2 separate regions of the Homo sapiens genome follow, and region 1 is linked to region 2. Evidence: promoter capture Hi-C in 16 types of primary human blood cells and fetal thymus (Javierre and others, 2016). All regions are on one chromosome and are shown on one strand. The core of a region is centred on a gene start or on the middle of the fragment in contact, and the rest is flanking DNA. Distances in the headings are between cores, read along the strand shown. Region 1 overlaps KDM3B (lysine demethylase 3B). Region 2 holds the start of CDC23 (cell division cycle 23).

Region 1 (2,987 bases), core at 381-2,880, 210 kb before region 2:
CCAGCTCTAGGGCTGAGACAGAATAGGAGGGTTTCCTGAGGAGGGCCTCCTCTTCTCCAGGAAGCTCTACTGTTCTTTCCTAGTTGTATAATCCATGGATTTCCACATGTCAACTAAAGTGAAAGGAAATGCTTCTACTCCATTGTTATGCTTCATTCTCACCCTGGGGAAATCACTTCTGTTGCCCTAATACCTACCATTGTTTTAAGGTGAAAGGACAAAAATCTGACAAGTCCAACTTTGAGAACACTTCCTCATATTGAAAATGACAATGCCATGAGCTCCCCTTCCTCAAGCACCTGCTAAAGTTTTTAAACTAGGGAGTGTTATCACACTATCAAAAAACTTGTGTGGCCTTAAAACATTTGCCTAGAAAAGTACTACCTACCTCCAACCCCTTCTCTGCCCCATCTTAAAATCACACTTAAGGATTTTTCTCTAAAGATATCAATGCCAGATCACCACCTAACAGAAATTTCAACTGCCTTTTTAAGAACACAGAACTATACAGCTTAGAAACAAGAGGATGCAAAGTGTGTTTTTAGTAATCTCCTTGCTTTTATTTATTTATTATTTATTTATTTTTGAGGTGGAATCTTGCTCTGTAGCCCAGGCTGGAATGTAGTGGTATGATCTTGGCTCACCGCACCCTCTGCTTCCCGGGTAAAGTGATTCTCCTGCCTCACCCTCTCAAGCAGCTGGGATTACAGGCACCCACCACCATGCCCAGCTAATTTTTTTTGTATTTTTAGTAGAGACAGGATTTCACCATGTTGGCCAAACTCCTGACCTCAGATGATGCGCCTGCCTTGGCCTCCCAAAGTGCTGAGATTACAGGCGTGAGCTATAGTGCCTGGCCATCTCCTTGCTTTTAAAAATCCAAGACAACTCGAAGTAGCAAGGCTATTACAATAACCTCACTATGTCTAAATCTCCCTGGCAAAAAGAGAGACCTGGAATTGTCCAGGTATCTGTGGTAGGCAGGCAGAGAATTGGCCCTTGGAACGACTTATTCTTGCTTACCTGACCTTGCTTCCAACACTCCCGGAAGATCTTCCAATTGTTTTTGTTGCTGGGGTCATGGAGACACAGAAGCCTCCCATCACAAAGCCAGGAGTGAGAAGTATGGGGATCTAGCACATTTAACCCCATCACCATCTCCTTCACTTCCTTCTGGGTATCAGTCAAGTTGCAGGCCCGCTTTGAAGCATCTGAGGTTTTCTTATTTTCTACCACTGAGGCAATGATGTGGTCAAGAAAGTTGGGTAGGCTGGCCTTGCTCTTCACTCCCTGCCAGACACAAATCCACCAGGTAAGCTTGACTGAGGCACCATGAGAACGGCATTCAAAAAACTGTCTCACAATTGTATTCACAAGGAGTTCTGACCTGTCTGATTAAATTCTACAAAAATTATTAAAATGTCTTTTACAACTGGAAGGGGGATAATAAGTCAACATCTTAAATTCTTTTATCCTTCATATTTTACCTTAACATTTAGGAAAGAAAAGTATAGAAAGATCCCTTTTGCCTCGAGAGATCTGAGACCTAAGAAATACCTTTGGCATCAGCCATTCAGTATACAAAGCACACATGCATGTAGACTGTAGGGATCATCAAATGCTGTAACTGAGTGTAAAAAGGTCACTCAGTTTGAGGGTTCTAAATTTTTCCTAACCAGCATGCCCAAGGGATACAATACTTCAATTAAGTAACTGAAGTGACTTATCAAGGCAATGGTTTTCTACCAGGGAGTACCTCAATGAAGGGTGTAGCAGAGTGTCCAAGAGGAAGTACATTCTGAAAGCAGTCTCCTACTCTCCAATTTTTTCCTCACTACCATCCCACTGAGAATCACTCACCTGTTTCAGCTGATGGGAAAGCTCAGGCCCAGAGATGAAAGTGACATACCTAAGGTCACAGAACTGAAGGTAGGGAAGCTTTTATAAACTGGATAATCCTATGCTTACAGTATTACTAATCCCTATCTCTATAAAGTATGTATAATTATGTAACATCATGGGAGAATTAGAAAAAGAACTGGCAGTATGATGAACAAGTATACATAAAACGGTACCCAAAGTAATTGTTTTGTTTGCTTTTTAAAATTTACTTATCCAGGCTGGGCACGGTGGCTCATGCCTGTTAATCCCAGCACTTTGGGAGGCCAAGGCAGGTGGATTACCTGAGGTCAGGAGTTCGAGACCAGCCTGGCCAACATGGTGGCCAACCCTGTCTCTACTAAAAATACAAAAATTATCCCAGTGTGGTGGCACGTGCCTGTAGTCCCAGCTACTTGCTCGGGAGGCTAAGGCAGGAGATTTGCTTGAACCTGGGAAGTGGAGGCTGCAGTGAGCTGAGATCGTGCCACTGCACTCCAGCTTGGGCAACAGAGTGAGACTGTCTCAAAAAAAAAAGTTACTTATCCAAAAGAGAAACAAATAACCCAAATTGTATAGAGGGCTCAGTCACCCACAGTTCATCACGTTTCAGCCATTAGTCATAAAACCCAAGAAGAAATGTATTTATGTATTCGCTTGAAATGATTTGCAGGACATATAAACTAAAAATCAGAATAGCAAGGTGTAGAACATTTAGGGGAAAAACATACATATGATAATATCTCGAGAAACACTGGAGACTTCTAGAAAGGGAAACAGGTGGTTGGGAGGCAAGGGTGCAAAGGAAACTTTTCAGTCGAAACCTTTTTTATTTTATTTATTTTTTTGAGATGGATCTCCCTCTGTCACCCAGGCTGGAGTGCGGTGGTGCGATCTTGGCTCACTGCAACTTCTGCCTCCCAGGTTCAGGCGATTCTCCTGCCTCAACCTCCCGAGTAGCTGGGATTATAAGCATGTGCCATCATGCCTGGCTAATTTTTGTAGTTTTTTAGAAAGAGTCAGGATTTTGCTACGTTGGTCAGGTTAGTCTCGAACTCCTGACCTCAAGTGATCTGTCCGCCTCAGCCTCCCAAAGTGCTGGGATTACA
Region 2 (2,752 bases), core at 183-2,682:
TATTTTTAGTAGAGACAGGGGTTTCACCGTGTTAGCCAAGATGGTCTTGATCTCCTGACCTCGTGATCCGCCCGCCTTCGCCTCGCAAAGTGCTGGGATTACCGGCGTGAGCCACCGCGCCCGGCCGAGACCCTTTCTTAAAATAAATAAAATAATAAAATAACAATTTAAAAATAGATAACTTCTATATAACACCCAGTGAATGACAAAATGGTTTCAAAAAAAATTCCCGAGGGGTTGGTAAGATAGTATACTACTATGAAAGGATAAAAACCAAAAAACGCCGAAAATGTTCATGTAATGTTTAAGAACATTGGGCTTTGGAGTAAAATCTGGTTTATAGTCTAGACTCTCTCCTTGGAAGAGTGATAGAACTTCTCTGAGCTTCCGTTTTTTCTTTTTTTTCTTTTCTGGTTTTGTTTTTTTTTTTTTTTTTTTTTGACGGAGTCTCGCTCTGTCGCCCAGGCTGGAGTGCAATGGCACGATCTCGGCTCATTGCAACCTCCGCCTCCCAGGTTCAAGCGATTCTCCTGCCTCAGCCTGCCGAGTAGCTGGGACTACAGACACGTGCCACCACGCCCGGCTAATTTTTATGTATTTTTAGTAGAGACGGGGTTTCACCGTGTTGGCCAGGATGGTCTCGATCTCCTGACCTCGTGATCCGCCCGCCTCGGCCTCCCACAGTGTTGGATTACAGGCTTGAGCCACCGCGCCTGGCCGAGCTTCCGTTTTTCTTTCTATAAAATTGGGATGATACGAATATCATAGTGCTGTTTTTAGGATTAAACCAGATTATAGTTGTAAAAGAGCAGAACCTGTTGTAGGATAAACCCTCAATAAATGTGAAATGTTAACAATTATTGTTAAATAAATGTTACAGAACAATGCTCTCACCCCCACCTCCCCGGGCTACCCGGGGTAAGAAAGGGTAGACAAAGAGGAAAAATCCTCCACATGGGGCGATACATCCTCCTATTTTAAGGAAGAATCCAGAGGCTACCATGCATCTTTCCTAGCATATACATCACTTTGTCATTATCTGGTACAGAGTCGGCCCTGAAACTACACCCTTTCTATTTTTCATCCAATCACATCACCCGTGAAAGGCACTCTCCCTTCTCCACCCTTTCTTGCCCCTACTCCCACCCCTAGCTTCCCAGTTTACTTTTCCCAGTCACTCATTCCCCTCTTCCCCGCCCCGCCCAGAGGTCGTGGCTTCTCCCTCGCCCCGCCTATTTTCTAATTTTCCCGCCTCAGTAGCTCTTGGCCATTTGGGGATGTAGTTGTTTCTTTTCCCCCGCCTCTTCGTGACGTTTCAGAAATAAGACCTATGATTGGTTTTTCCGGAGCAAGAGCCGGCCAATGACAGGCAGATATTTTTGGTGCAGATGGGCAGCCAGTATTATCGCCGATGATTGGCTGGAGTGGCCCGAGTCGGGAAAATGGCTGCGAGTACCTCCATGGTCCCGGTGGCTGTGACGGCGGCAGTGGCGCCTGTCCTGTCCATAAACAGCGATTTCTCAGATTTGCGGGAAATTAAAAAGCAACTGCTGCTTATTGCGGGCCTTACCCGGGAGCGGGGCCTACTACACAGTAGCAAATGGTGAGATGTTGGAGTGGGAAGGGACGGGGCTTGGATCCTTGGCCTTGGGGGGCTTGTCGAGCTGATCTAGTTTGTGTGGGTGTTCCAGGTCGGCGGAGTTGGCTTTCTCTCTCCCTGCATTGCCTCTGGCCGAGCTGCAACCGCCTCCGCCTATTACAGAGGTAAGGACATGTTTACAGTGAGCGCTCCCCATCAACCCAGGGGTGTGCCTCAAGAGCCACTGAGTGCCCTGTCACTGGAGGAGAGCAAACTGCTTAGCAGAAATGTTTGTAGAGGGAATTCAGGCATTCAAAGAGCTGAGTGTTTTAAATGATTTTATCCATTTAGTTTTCTTGAGCTTTGAAAGACTTGGTGGTGCTCTTATTTAAAGCTGGGGAGAATTAGTAAACAATTACTGCTTATGATTTCAGCCTTTTAGGGCTTATAGCCAAACCTAGACATAAGAGTGCCTCATAATAGTAAATATTATTATAAGGAATTATTATAAGGATATCTCATAATAAATACCCAAAAGGATGAGAAGAATCAAAAGTTTTGGTCTGGCGCGGTGGCTCACGCCTGTAATCCCAACACTTTAGGAGGCCGAGGTGGGCGGATCACGAGGTTAGGAGTTCGAGACCAGCTTGGCCAACACGGTGAAACCCCGTCTCTAGTAAAAATACAAAATTAGCCGGACATGGTGGCGCGCGCCTGTAATCCCAGTTACTCGGGAGGCTGAGACAGGAGAATCGCTTAAACCCGGGAGGCGAAGGTTGCAGTGAGCTGAGATCGCGCCATTGCACTCCAGCCCGAGGGCAGAGCGGGACACTGTCTCAAAATAAATAATAAATAAATAAAGTTTTTACAATACCTACACTGTTGTCTGATCAGCATAGCAAATAATGGTTAAGTTTGGGTGCTGGATTGAGACGACTCTGGGTTCAAATGACCTTTGGCAACTTAACCTTCTGAGCCAGTTTCCTCATCTGTGCAGTGACGATAGTAATAGTATCTACTCAATGGGGATATTGAGAGAAGTCAATGAGATAATAATATAGACCGCTTAGAAGTGTGCCTGGTGCTTGCATCTATATTTCGGTCAAGTTCTTTATTAGCAGCACCAATGTGGGCAAATGATTTCTAAGTGACAGCCTTCTCATCTATAGATAA

What was found. The method cuts DNA at HindIII sites, captures the fragments that hold promoters and counts their contacts. A CHiCAGO score of 5 or more calls a contact.
Region 1: a fragment that was not itself captured here is called in contact with the fragment with the promoter of CDC23 in region 2 in 2 of 17 cell types (M2 macrophages and M1 macrophages); the score reaches 5.6 in M2 macrophages.

The regions. Positions count from the first base shown.
Region 1 is chr5:138,422,378-138,425,364 of GRCh38, reverse strand. It overlaps KDM3B (lysine demethylase 3B), which reads right to left. Exons shown (of 24, transcript NM_016604.4): 16 at 1,024-1,290. Among named protein-coding and RNA genes, the nearest start is that of REEP2, 15 kb to the left of the region's middle. The HindIII fragment of the contact is 621 bases long and covers 1,320-1,940 here.
Region 2 is chr5:138,212,003-138,214,754 of GRCh38, reverse strand. It overlaps CDC23 (cell division cycle 23), which reads left to right and starts at 1,432. Exons shown (of 16, transcript NM_004661.4): 1 at 1,432-1,603; 2 at 1,692-1,764. The coding sequence starts at 1,443. RefSeq lists an enhancer at 1,121-1,415. The HindIII fragment of the contact is 10,377 bases long and covers 1-2,752 here.